Regions from separate parts of the Homo sapiens genome. Here regions 1, 3 and 4 are each linked to region 2. The links are contacts of gene promoters, found by promoter capture Hi-C in blood cells and fetal thymus (Javierre and others, 2016). All regions are on one chromosome and are shown on one strand. Each heading gives the region's core, a stretch centred on a gene start or on the middle of the fragment in contact. The rest is flanking DNA. Distances are from core to core; before and after follow the strand shown. Region 1 holds the start of TLR10 (toll like receptor 10). Region 2 holds the start of PGM2 (phosphoglucomutase 2). Region 3 overlaps KLF3 (KLF transcription factor 3). Region 4 has its middle 56 kb from the start of TLR10.

What was found. The method cuts DNA at HindIII sites, captures the fragments that hold promoters and counts their contacts. A CHiCAGO score of 5 or more calls a contact.
Region 1: a fragment that was not itself captured here is called in contact with the fragment with the promoter of PGM2 in region 2 in 1 of 17 cell types (activated CD4 T cells); the score reaches 5.7 in activated CD4 T cells.
Region 3: a contact is called between a fragment that was not itself captured here and the fragment with the promoter of PGM2 in region 2, in 1 of 17 cell types (fetal thymus). The highest score is 6.2, in fetal thymus.
Region 4: a contact is called between a fragment that was not itself captured here and the fragment with the promoter of PGM2 in region 2, in 1 of 17 cell types (fetal thymus). The highest score is 6.1, in fetal thymus.

What each region holds. Positions count from the first base shown.
Region 1 is chr4:38,782,039-38,785,416 of GRCh38, reverse strand. It overlaps TLR10 (toll like receptor 10), which reads left to right and starts at 2,427. Exons shown (of 4, transcript NM_030956.4): 1 at 2,427-2,496. RefSeq lists enhancers at 3,106-3,275, 3,338-3,378. The HindIII fragment of the contact is 1,301 bases long and covers 1,094-2,394 here.
Region 2 is chr4:37,825,181-37,828,543 of GRCh38, reverse strand. It overlaps PGM2 (phosphoglucomutase 2), which reads right to left and starts at 1,858. Exons shown (of 14, transcript NM_018290.4): 1 at 1,731-1,858. The coding sequence starts at 1,811. RefSeq lists enhancers at 1,186-1,685, 1,686-2,187, 3,220-3,363 and a silencer at 1,676-1,975. The HindIII fragment of the contact is 6,567 bases long and covers 1-3,363 here.
Region 3 is chr4:38,667,058-38,670,132 of GRCh38, reverse strand. The region is part of intron 1 of KLF3 (KLF transcription factor 3); the gene reads right to left. Among named protein-coding and RNA genes, the nearest start is that of KLF3-AS1, 3.7 kb to the right of the region's middle. RefSeq lists enhancers at 1-363, 2,771-2,820, 2,010-2,859, 2,860-3,075. The HindIII fragment of the contact is 204 bases long and covers 1,278-1,481 here.
Region 4 is chr4:38,725,454-38,728,885 of GRCh38, reverse strand. No RefSeq gene overlaps it. Among named protein-coding and RNA genes, the nearest start is that of TLR10, 56 kb to the left of the region's middle. The HindIII fragment of the contact is 6,828 bases long and covers 1-3,432 here.

The DNA of each region.
Region 1 (3,378 bases), core at 495-2,994, 960 kb before region 2:
TGTTGGTCTCTGGGGAAAGGAAGAATATGTCTTTGGACAACAAAAACCCCAAGTGATTATTTTTCCTTGAGAGGGCAATATACAGTGTGAGTGTGCTGATCATAGTAATTTGAGAATTTCTGAAATGAAAAAGATTTTAGAGCTTAGTTCATCCAACAAGCTGGGAATCCCCTCTCCAACGTTCCTGACGGGTGTTCCTGTCTTCCTACGTTTGTGTAATATAGACATGTTTGTATATGTTTAGGTGAGGAGCAGAGCTGGTTTTGTTTTGCTGTTGTTTTTCTTTTTACAGTTATTTATATTTTGTGTGATTTCCCCCTACAATATATGTGGAAATACATGGACTACATTTTAAATTTAAAAACCCCAATATGATAGTTAAAAAATGTATTTTAAGAACCCACCCACTCCCCAATTTTATAAGACATAAATCTATTATAATCATTCATGTTTAAATTGATCATTCCTCCTGTAGACAAATCCATCTGGAAATTTTCTTCTTTACTCGTGATCTCCAGCAGTCACCTAAATCTTAAGTCAAGTATGAAAAAAACCTCAAAAATGTTGCTTTAAAAATTGATCCGTACTTTGCGATCTACATTTTAAAAAATACCATGCTTATTTTACCACTTCACTTCAAGAAAAGGCCTCTAGGTCAGAGGTCTCCAATCTTTTTGGCACCAGGACCAATTTCATGGAAGACAGTTTTTCCACAGACCGGGTTTGGAGATGGAGGAGAGATGGTTTCGGGATGATTCAAGCACATTACATTTATTGTGCACTTTATTTCTATTATTATGACATTGTAATATATAATGAAATAATTATACAACTCACCATAATGTAGAATCAGTGGAAGCCCTGAGCCTGTTTTCCTGCAACTAGATGGTCCCATCTGACATGATGGGAAGCAGTGACAGATCATCAGACATTAGATTCTCATAAGGAGCACGCAACCTAGATCCCTCCCATATGCAGCTCACAGTAGGGTCCAAGCTCCTATGAGAATCTAATGCTGCCACTGATATGACAGGGTGTGGAGCTCAGGTGGTAATGCAAGCGATGGGGAGCGACTGTAAATACAGATGAAGCTTCATTTGCTTACCCACCACTCACCTCCTGCTGTGTGGCTCGGTTCCTAACAGGCCATGAACTGGTACCTGTCTGTGGCCCAGGGGTTGGGGACCACTGCTCTAGATAACTCCTTTCCACCCTCTTCCTGCCTGATTGCTGAAATTATGGAGTCACCATTCCTACTCCTGCCCATCATCACATGACTGCCCCACCCAACTGATGAAAGGGATAACCGACCTGCACCTTGAAGAAAAGCATCATCAAAGAGCTCTAAGATGCTGTGGAAAACCAGTATGGTAGTTCTGCAAAAAATTAAACAGAATGGTCATACGATCCGTGAATTCCACTTCTAGGTATAGACTCAAAAGAATGTTAAGTACCAACTTAAATAGATATTTGTGCACCACGTTCACAGCAGCATTATTCACAAGAGCCAAAAGGTGAAAACTACCCAAATGTCCATTGATGGATGAATGAATGAACAAAATGTGGGACGTACATACAACAAAATAGTATTCAGCCTTAAAAAAGGAAGGAAAGATTCTATTATTCTATGTAATAATAATAGAAATGATATGGATGAACCTTAAAGACATTATGCTCAATGAAATAAGCCAGTCACAAAAAACCAAATATGGTATAACTCCACGGACATGAGGTACCTAGAGTAGTCAAATTCACACAGACAGAAAGTAGAATTATAGTTTCCAGGGTCTGAGGGAAGGGGAAAATGGGAAATTATTTTTTAATGGCATAGAATTTCAGTTTGGGATGACGAAAAATCTTTGGAGATGGGCAGTGGTGGTGGTTGCACAACAGTGTGAATGTACTTAATTAATGCCACTAAATTGTACATTTAAAAATGCTTAAGGTCAGGCGCGGTGGCTCACACCGTAATCCTAGCACTTTGGGAGGCCGAGACAGGCAGATCACTTGAGCTCAGGAGTTCAAGACCAGCCTGGGCAACTGGCGAAACCCCGTCTCTACAAAAAATACAAAAAACTTAGCCAGGCCAGTTGGTGAGCGCCTGTAGTCCCAGACATTTGCGGGACTGAGAAGCCCAGCCTCTTGCGGGCTTTAGCGCAAGAGGTCAAGGCTGCAGTGAGCAGTGATCACACCACTGCACTCCAGCCTGGGTGACAAAGTGAGACCCTACCTCAAAAAAAATAAAAATAAAAATAAAAATAGAAAGATGGTGAGCATGATAACTCCTATGTTATGTGTATTTGACCACAATTTAAAAAAGTGCTAAGATTATAATGAATATATATAACATGCAATACCAGTAGCATGCAGAAGAGGGCGGATGGGGTTTAAGCTTTACAGAAAACCTCGATTCAATTCCCTCCTGCAGCCAATTCTGACCGTGTCAACGAATCATCCACGCACCTGCAGCTCTGCTGAGAGAGTGCAAGCCGTGGGGTAAGAACCTTAGCTTTGTTTGTTGTAACTCTCATTAAAAAGATATAAGGGCTGCATGGGTATTTTCTAAAAAGGAGATAATTTGAGCTAATATTGAGGGGAGGGAAGTAGGGTTATTTAGATTTTTAGTATTTACTATTTTGTCTAGATTAATGATTAGTGACCTTGGGGCTATTGATCTGAGGAATTTCTTGCAGATGCTTGAGAGCGTGGGTTTCTTTTCACTGATTGCGGATCAAACCTGGTCAGCTCTTCTATTCAGATTGAACGGTCCTATGCACTGTGGCAAGTTTTTTCTAGCTCTTATTTCCCCACAGCGTATGTTAACCTCTGCTGGATGAAACCTTTGGCTATTTAAGGCATATTTGTTGCTCCTTTACCCCGTTGAAAAGTTCTGCATTTGTGTTACCTGTTTAAAAGTAGGGGCAGATCTGATGGATCTTGTACAATGCAGTTCTTATTCCGTTTCCTTCAGAAGTGGACAAAGAGGGCCATATGTGGTTGCTGTAAAGAAGAGGATGGTTAACAACCTGTGAGCATTTGGTTTCTTGATAAGCTTTCTCCCAGACCACCTACACTGAGCTATTAATTAGGAATAGGATGCACTTCGAGTTTTATTTCAATTCTTGTGAACTTATAACTTTCCTAAGAATATATTTATACATGTAGGCAAAGTCTCTTGAACTTTGTGGCACCTAGCAGAGTGTCCCACAGCAGCTGCATGAAGCTTCATAGACAGGGGCATGGGGTGAGAAAGGAGGAAGTGGCCGCCATGGCAGCTGGTCAGATCAATGGATTCAACCTCAGTGATTCGGTCCTTAGGATGTCGTTACATCTTAAGCCACCTCATTTCAAGGTTTGAGGTGCCTTGCATTTGGGTTT
Region 2 (3,363 bases), core at 609-3,108:
GCACGGTGGAAAGACAGAGGGCACCTGCCAGGGCGCCTTGCCAGTCGCCGGGGGTAGTCTGACTAGAGGGCTGCAATGCTTTTAGCTGGTGGGAGGTTCACTGGAGAATGAATGGGCTTCTTCTCAGGTGCCAGTCTCAAAGCAAAGAAGAAATTAACAGAGGATAGAACATGAGAAGTGATTAAAAAAAAAAAAGGACATCTCATCTCTACCCAGAGAAATACAATTTTTCTATACACAGATGCAACACTGTGTAGAAATTAGATTGTTTTCTTCTTCTTCTTAGAGAAAGTGCATTATGAACTCTGACTTCAAAAGAATTCTGTACTCTGCAAGCTACAAGTTATCAGAAATGGAAACATTTTTCTTCCCTTGTGAATCACAAGGTTATCTTCCCAGGAAAAGAAAAACGCCCCCAAGGAGTTGCCAATAGCATCCTGGAAATGGGATTTGCTGACATTTTATTTGTAGGGGCCAGAGAATGGTAAATAAAGACAAAGACCTGACCCCTACTGACCTTGTAATCTTCTTTGTTCATTCAAGTATTTCAGTGACCTACTATGTGTCATGCACTATGCCTATGCCAGGCACTACAAACCAAGGTAGTGAGAATAGAGAGGCCTGGCCACATAATTTATGGAGGTCCAGTGCACAATGAAAGTGGGTGACCTCTTGTTTTACCAGTAAGACTTTCAAGACAGGACAGCAGGACATTAAAACAACAGTGGGCCCTTCAAGGAGCGCGAGTCCTGTGAGACTGCAGGGGTCTCTCGCCCCTGAAGTCGGCCCTGGAGACAGACATTAAACAAACCTACAAACAAGTGTTTTTGGAGTTTTTTGTTTTTACCATTTGTAGTAAGAGCTATAAAGGAAAATAACAGACTGTTTAGAGTGAATATTAGGGATAAATAATTTAACGCTTCGGAGCCAAGGAAGGACTGACTCTCTACGTAAGCCACATTTAAGTTCAGGCACAAAATATGAGTCACAACGGGAGAAACAAGTTCAGCAGGAGAGCAGCGAGGGACATTCCGAGAAAACCTAACAGCAAGCAGAACAGGTCGAAAGGGCGAGACGCAAGTTTATAGAGAGGAGAGGGAGTGATGTCCAGAGCTGGGTTCCTGATTCTAAGAAACGGAATGAAGAGAGAGAAAACCGTGCTGTGTCCCAGGTGTGCCTCCCTGGCAGTCAAAGTTCTAAGGGGGACTCCTGAAGCCAGGCGGGCCCACCCGGGAGGACAACCCACGTTTGTAACCAAGCCCTCGGGATGGGAGGACCGGACCAGAACGCTGCTCTGCAAAGGTCTCAGCGGCCAAAGGAATACGCGGGACGGAGCGATTCTGGGTCCATGGGGATGCACAGCCGACTACCGACGACGAGCCAGCGGTCTGAGTGACAGTAAGGCGTGCGCCCCTCAACTAGACAGCGTCCAGGGTCTGGCCGCGCTTACACCACCCTGGCTCGCTCCTCTACTCCGAACTTGCAGTCCGGCCGGCCGGATGGCTGGTTTCGTCCGGGGACAAGCCTTCCCGGCCTAACTCTGAACGTGCCGCATGCCGGCCAGGTCGAAGGAAGCCTAGCAGCGGCCGTACGCTCCTGGGTCTTCCCGGGGGAGAAGCGGGATGCACTGGGCGGGAAGGCAGCTCAGGCAGAGCAAGCAGCGCCGCGCCTGGAGAGGGCAGAGCACCCGGCCCCGCTCCAGGCGCTCCCCGCCTGCTGGTGCCCCTCACCTTGTCCCAGCGCAGCCACTGGGCGGTCTCCTGGTCCAGCCGGGCGTCCTCGCCTAGACCGCTGCCTTCTGGAGCCGCCATCGCTGAGCTTGTGCTACCGCTGCAGAGGGAAGCAGGCGGTGAGATCTGCCTTCCGGCCCGGCCCCAAGACGTGGAGGCGGAGGCGGGGGCGGGGAGAGCCGCGGCGGAGCCAGTCGGTCCGGGGGAAAGTGACGCGCGCCGCGGCGGGCACGCCTCCTTGCCGTTTGCGGGTGCGCTGCAGGGGGTGGGAGTGAGCGAGGAGGAATTGCGGGGCTAGGGTGGGTTGCTGGAACCTGGCACGTGTGAGAAGGGTTTGCCATCGTCTCTGATGCATCCAGGCTACAGCCAGCCGTGAGTTCCTGCTGCGCGCCAGGCACATGTCAGATGCTGGGATACCAGGAAGTGCACCCAGATAGGGGCCTGAAGACTATGTAGAAACTCAGAGGGTCAAGAACAGCCAGAAAAAAATCTTGAAAAAGAAAAGCAAAGTAGGAAGACCAGTGGAACATAAGATAGAGACCAGAAACAAAAATACACGTGTATGGACAATTTATTTCAGAGGCGGGGCTGCAGAGCACAGGAAGGAACTATTTTTGGTTAATGGTGCTCGGTCAAAGGGATATCCACGTAGGGAAAAGAAAAAAGGGAACTTGGCCCCCTACCTCCCATCACACACAGCTCTGAACTCCAGATCAATTGTATCTCTAAGTGCGAAAGGTAGTGTAGCAGGAGGAGCCGCAGACAAAACTCCTCAGACACCGGATTAAAGAAGGAAGAGGTTTTTATTCGGCCGGGAGCGTCGGCAGACTCGCGTCTTAAGAGCCGAGCTCCCTGAAAAAGAAATTCCTAGCCATTTTAAGGGCTTACAACGCTAAGGGGTCTGTCTACGTGAAAGGGTCATGATAGATCAAGTAAGCGTGAGGAACGTGACTGGGGGCTACATACATCAGCTAACAGAACAAGAAGTTTTACAGTGCTTTCTCATACGATGTCTGGAATTTACGGATAACGCCAGTAGTTTTGGTCAGGGGTTAATATTATTATTATTATTTTAACCACCAGGGCCAGGTGGTGGCGCCAAGGTCGTCTAGCTATTTATCTTACTTCTGTTTTTTTCCAACTTTTTGCTTTCTCTCTTTTCTCCTGTCTTATAAACTAGGGAAAAGGGGAGGTGGGGGAGAAGCTGGGAAGGACAGCAGAAATGGTGGTCTCTTTCCATAGTAGCGTGAAACTTAGGGAAACTAACATAGGAGCACATCTTCCTGACGCTGGTATCACCAAGCCATAAAGAAGATGCATACCCATAAGCATAAAAAAGCACGGGCAAGAATATTTCTAGCAGCATTATTTGTAAAAGCCTCAAACTGGAAACAACCCAGATGACCATCGACAATACAATGGATAAATACTTGGTAGTATATCCATACCAATTCATATAAATAAATCATGGCACATTGATAGAGCAATGCAGGTGAACTACTGTTATACACAACATCATGAATGAATCTCACAAACACTGAGTGACAGAGTTCAAACACCCACCCCCATACCCCGTCACCCCAAAATACTGCATCATTCATCTGTAGTCCCAGCTATTTCGTGGTGGGGGAGC
Region 3 (3,075 bases), core at 130-2,629, 840 kb before region 2:
GGAGAAATGATAATGAATTCAGCCTGCCGACACAATGGAGTGAGTTTCAAAAACCTCCAGGAGCCTGTTTTGCTAAAGAAACAATTTTACTACAAACTCTCTGGCCAACGGATACAAAATGCACAGATCATTTTTTTATTTTCTTACTGTTCCAGAGAATATGGTCACATTCATTACAGAATAAGGACAAGGCCAGTTAAGAGGACATCTTTTTTTTTTTTTTTTTTTTTTTTTTTTTTGAGACAGAGTCTCACTCTTGTTGCCCAGGCTGCAGTGCAGTGGCACAATCTCGGCTCACTGCAACCTCCACCTCCCAGGTTCAGGCAATTCTCCTGCCTCAGCCTCCTGAGTAGCTGGGATTACAGGCGCCCACCACCACGCCCGGATAATTTTTGTACTTTTAGTAAAGATGGGGTTTTGCCATGTTGGCTAGGCTGGTCTCGAACTCCTGACCTCAGGTGATCCACCCACTTCGGCCTCCCAAAGTGCTGAAATTACAGGTGTGAGCCACCGCGCCCGGCCGAGGACACTATTTTTTTGCTTTGGAAGAAATGAATCCTAGTTTTGGTTCAGAAACTGTCAACAGCATTGTGCCTCTTCTATGACTACTAAATTTCAAGCAAAGAGAGCTGAGTTGGGGGTAAAAGCAGGGCTATTCCCCGCCTTCAGACAATGCTGTCCCTTATCAGGGCAGACTGCTGTCTGGTTTCCTGTCTCCAGCTCGGGCATGACTGCTTAAGATGAGAAACATGGTCTAAGAAAGGAACAGAGTGGTCTTGAAAATGAGAATGCTAGCGACCACCATAACCCTCTTCCAACTCACTCCCAAGAGGAATTCTGACTAGAATATCACATACTAGCAAACTAGATATCAATTGTTTTAAGATTCTAGGGATTTGCTTTTTTAAAAAGCTAGAACCAATGATAAATGATGCACTTCAGAAAGAATCCAAGTTCCAGAATAATGTAATTGTAATTCCTAGTACCTTAAAGAATGAGGTTGTGTGTATTTTATTTTTCTTAAACTCAACTGGGTGTGAAAACAGAGAACAAGAAATGCTGCCTAAGAAATCTGTCGTTTTATAGCAAAAATGTTGATTTGAAAATATTAAGAAGGCAAGTATCTCAAGGGGCGATGGAGACACAATGAAATTAAATTAGGAATCATGATTTATATGGTTAAGAAATTAAAACTCTTGTTCCCATCTTTCTGGTAATCATAGCAACTATAAGATAGGATAATTTTCCCCAACTATTCAGCTTAGCATTTAGAAGCTTGCAGAATTTTTTTCTGATAGAATATATTAGACCCTAATTATCTCTATTAACCACTTCATCTCCCTGCAAAAGAGAGAAGAAAGAATTTGGGGAAAGCCAAATAAAGACTCTGTTTACCAAACCTAGTTAGATTGTTAACAACTTTGGAACCAAAACAAACAAAAAAACCTGCTTCGATTGGAGTTACTTATGAATTTTAAGCTTAAAAGTCTCTTGTCCTACAGGTCAGCTAAGTATTTCCAGCTGCTTTTCCCAAAGGAGAAAGAAGTTATTGGGACTTCTAAAACTCCCAGCTTTTTTCATAGAAGGTTATCAGTAGCCAACTATTTGATACTAATAACTCTCTTAATATCATATTTTATATTTTCCATTTATACATAAAGAATGTGGTGGAATGTGACATTTAAAACGCACCATTATCATCAATTTTGGGGAGAAGAGAGCCTGATTTGCTGCTTCAGCAACTCTTTAAATTAATTCCACAGAGATGCTGTAGATGATTCCTTTTGATTAAAAAAAAAAAATCCCCAAGTAAGTTTACAAAAGCACTTTCCAAAACTTTTCTTTTTCAAGCAAATATTTCCTTAAATCTTAGTTTCTCAAGAACCAACAGAAAACTAATATTAAGGCAGGTCTTAAATAGTTATCCTAGAAATTCATTAACCCACAACTGATAGAATATTTTTAAAAAATGAAAAATATTATTGTAAAACAAAAATGAGAAGAGCATTCTTCTTGTTTTCAAAATAGAAGATTAAAATTTTCCAAACAATCTAGCATTAAATGAATTTGTTAATGCCAGTTCTCCTTTGAGCTTTTTAATTCTTAAAAACGGGTTGGAAATGAGGTGTAGAATATTGCACAGTGAAATCTTTGTCCTTAAAACATTATCCTGATATTTAAATCTTTGTCCTTAAAAAGAAATAATCCCGGGATTTTCTCAATGTCTTAGGCTTTGCTTCAATGATTTTTCTAAAGATTTCTCCTTCCAAACATAAGCAAGACTTAAACTAAAGCCAGGCTGCCAACATTGCTTAAATTCTCCATCCACGGAAGCCACCTGGAGCAGCCTGGGTTAAACGTGAACGAGGGTGGGCCACATCTTTCAGATAATGCTAGGTCTTCTAAACTGTAAGGTGTTAATCCTGATCCAAAATTGACAGCTTCAGGGCAAAATGCCTATCTTAAAACAAACGCCCTAACCACTTCAACACAAGAATTACAAACAAATACAAACAAAACTCCTTTAGGTTTCTTTGCCAGGATGGACCCACGTTTCCCCAAATCACAATCTAGCAATAAAAAATTTAAAAAGGTAAAAGCATTTATTCACCCAGACAAATGCAGTGGAGCAAAGGGTGTACGTAAAAAGGTTAACTGACTTCTCATTATGACATAACACAGGCGTCTTAAGCAATATCAAGTGTGTAGAGACATGATAACTCCATGGGTGGGGATACGGAGTTTAGGGGCAGGGACCTCAGCCTGGTCTGGGCTACTGATCTACCAGAAAACAGCCTGAAACAGGAAAGAGCACACATATGCCACTTGGAATGTATGACGCAAACCCCAGCCTTGAAACAAAGAACAGGAAACAGCTCTGCTGGCTGTGCTGGAGAGAAAGCACAGAGAAACATTTAGCCGGCCCTCCCTGACCCTATATTCATGAGCAGCTGGAGTTTTTTAAGACAACAACAGGGGGGTGGAGGTGTTTGTTCTACGGGTGTGAATAATAACACCAGCTTTATACAGGGGACCTGCCCTATTTACAAATAAGAGCTGCCACATACAGTAAAC
Region 4 (3,432 bases), core at 1-2,500, 900 kb before region 2:
GAGGGCATTTATTCTGAGTTTTACTGTTTATTGATTTGCAGTACTTACAAGCCAAAGTGTTTGTCCTCCTGGCCTTCAGGGCCAAGGCTAAGGCCACAACAATGCAGCCCTTCTTCAGTGGCCCTGTTACCTTCCGGGAGCAGGCAGGGTGTGGCAAGAACTTCTGGGTGGCAAGAGCTCCAGGGTGTCGTGAGAACTCTGGGTGTGGCTGCCCAGGGCAGGCCTTGGAGAAAGCAGTTAAGAAACAAGCAACAAGGCTTGGTACCCCAGATCTGAATGTTGGAGCCACCCGTGGTTCTGGCTCTGTTATGGAGTAGCTATGGGGACTCAAGTTCTCTGCCCCTCACTTTCCCCGGCTGTCCAGCACAATGGCAGCAGCAGTAACAGTAACAGTGTACTTTTACTGAGTACTTACTGTCCACACGTGGGACTTCGTAGCTCTCCCTTAACGGTTAAGACCAGCCACTGCATCTGCGATCTATACCCACTCTTACTAGCTTCGTGACCTTGGAGACACCGCTCCAGCCCTTGTTCCTCAACTTCTTAATCTGTAAGAAGTGGGGCAGTTAAGAGCGCCTTCCTCTTTGAATTGCAAGAGGATTAAATGAGAAAGCCCAGGAATAGTTCCCAGCCCAAGGTAGTAGTATGAGCAATACTATGATAAATTTCACATTCATGATCTCATGTCATTTTCATAGCAACAATGTGAAATAGGTTCTCTACAGGGGAGAGGCTCAGGGCACGCAGAAAGAAGCAAGCAAGGCTGAGATTTGACCCCAGGATTATATGGTTCTGAGTACCACAGTCTGGATCTGAAATCACTGGGCCTTACTGCCTTTCATTTGCCAACGTCACCTGAAGAAACACTTACTGAGCAGCTTACTAGGAGCCAACCCGTTGTGACCATATTGAATTGGTTGAAAGTTCCAATTGAATACAGTTCTTAAGCACTAATGGAGCTTCTTCTGACCAGGCACTGGGCTGGATCCTGGCTCTATTGCAGTGACAATGGGGAGTATGTAGGCCCACAAGAAGATCCCAGGCAAATCTGCAAACAAATAACAGCTCCTGTTAAGATCGAGCACCTTTGTAAGTCTCCATGATTCTCTCTGCTTGCAACTCCATTTGGAAAATTTCTTGAACTTCCTTATCTCCTTTGAGGGCCTTAAATAAAAACATCCACCTTCTTTTGCTTGAGATTCCCATTTCTAGATTGAAGTTTAAAATGAACTGTGGGCTGGGCGCGGTGGCTCACGCCTGTAATCCCAGCACTTTGGGAGGCTGAGGTGGGTAGATCACGAGGTCAGGAGATCGAGATCATCCTGGCTAACATGGTGAAACTCCGTCTCTACTAAAAATACAAAAAATTAGCCGGGCGTGGTGGCCGATTCCTGTAGTCCCAGCTACTCGGGAGGCTGAGGCAGGAGAATGGCGTGAACCTGGGAGGCGGAGCTTGCAGTGAGCTGAGATCGCGCCACTGCACTCCAGCCTGGGAGACAGAGCGAGACTTAGTCTCAAAAAAAAAAAAAAAAAAAAGAACTGTGAAGGCCAGGCATGGTGGCTCACGCCTTTAATCCCAGCACTTTGGAAGGCTGAGGCAGGCAAATCTTATGAGCTCACGAGTTGGAGACCAGCGTGGGTAACATGGCAAGACTCTGTCTCTACAAAAAATGCAAAAATTAGCTGGGTATGGTGGTGTGCACCTGTAGTCCCAGCTGCTCAGAAGGCTGAGGTGGGAGGATGGCTTGAGCCCGGGAGGCAGAGGTTGCAGTGAGTTGAGATTGTGCCACTGAACTCCAGCCTGGGTGATAGAGCCAGATCTTATCTCAAAAAATAAAATAAAATAAAATGAACGATTAAATGAAATGACACAAATAAAGAAACTGGAGAGCTGTGTATCAGTTTACCCTTGAAAGACTAGAAAGATTTGGCTGGGCACAGTGGCTCACACCTGTAATCCCAGCACTTTAGGAGGCCAAGGCAGGCGGATCACCTGAGGTAGGGAGTTTGAGACCAGCCTGACTAACCCCATCTCTACTAAAAATACAAAATTAGCTGGGCGTGGTGGTGTGTGCCTGTAATCCCAGCTACTCAGGGGGCTGAGGCAGGAGAATAGTTTGAAGCCGGGAGGCGGAGGTTGCGGTGAGCCGAGATCGCGTTATTGCACTCCAGCCTGGGTAACAAGAGCAAAACTCCATCTCAAAAAAAAAAAAAAAAAAAAAAAAAGACTAGAAAGATTTGATAAGGGTTCAAGGAAAGGAAAGGAAAGACCCTTATTGGGTATATACTGCTCTGTGTAAGGGCCTCCTTTAGGAAATGGGCTTTGGAAAATTGCTTCTAGATTCTGGAAAAGAGGTCAGGAAAATGTCACTCACTGAGAAACTAGGAAGAAAGCAGTTAATAAGGTGGACTATTTGCAGGTATAAACCATCCCCAAGATGAGTTGTAGACTGATGCCCAGAGGAGACTCAAAATACCAAAATCAAATCCATGCATTGATGAAACATGTATATTTACAGAACACCCTGTAGGTACTGTGTTAGTTAGGGTTCTCCAGAAAAACCAAATCGTGAGACTAAGGTGTGACTAAACTGCAGTGAGTGGCATGCCCAAATTTAGCACTGTCCACCTGGGATCTAGTGACCAGGGAACCCAAACCACGAATGAGGAGGCTCTTCTGGTGCCTGTAGAAAAATCACTAGCACTGTGGGTAAGAACACGGACCCGGCAGCCAGATTGCCTCTTACTGTAGGAAATGCTCACCTTGAATAAATGCTTTACCCTCCCAAGGCCTCACATTTTGGAGCTCTTGGGGCGGCGGGGGGTAAAGTACATCTACTCCATAGATTTGTCATGAGGATGAAATGGGCCATCAGGTGTAAAGTGCTTAGAACAGACCTGGCACATAGGAAGCCTCTATAAGCACCAAAGTGATAAAAAAAAAAAAATTTCCCATTTCTGGAGAGGTGTAACAAGCTGATATGGTTTGGTTGTGTCCCCACCCAAATCTCATCTTGAACTGTACTCCTATAATTCCCATGTGTTGTGGGAGGGACCTGGTGGGAAGTCATTGAATCATGGGGGCGGCTCCCCCATACCATTCTCATGGTGGTGAATAAGTCTCATGAGATCTGATGGTTTTATAAGGGGTTTCCGCTTTCGTTTCTTCCTCATCTACTCTCTCGCTGCTGCAAGAAATGCCTTTGGCCTTCCACCATGATTGTGAGGTCTCCCTAGCCATGTGGAACTGTAAGTCCATTAAACGTCTTTCTTTTGTAAATTGCCCAGTCTCCGGTGTGCTTTTATCAGCAGTATGAAAAAGGGCTAATACATAAGCCTAAAGGGGTTTCTCTGGTCCAGCTGGGGCTGGATAAACCTTGACCCATAGACCCACTGAGGATCAATGCCTGCTTGTAGGGCTGCATGCTGCCC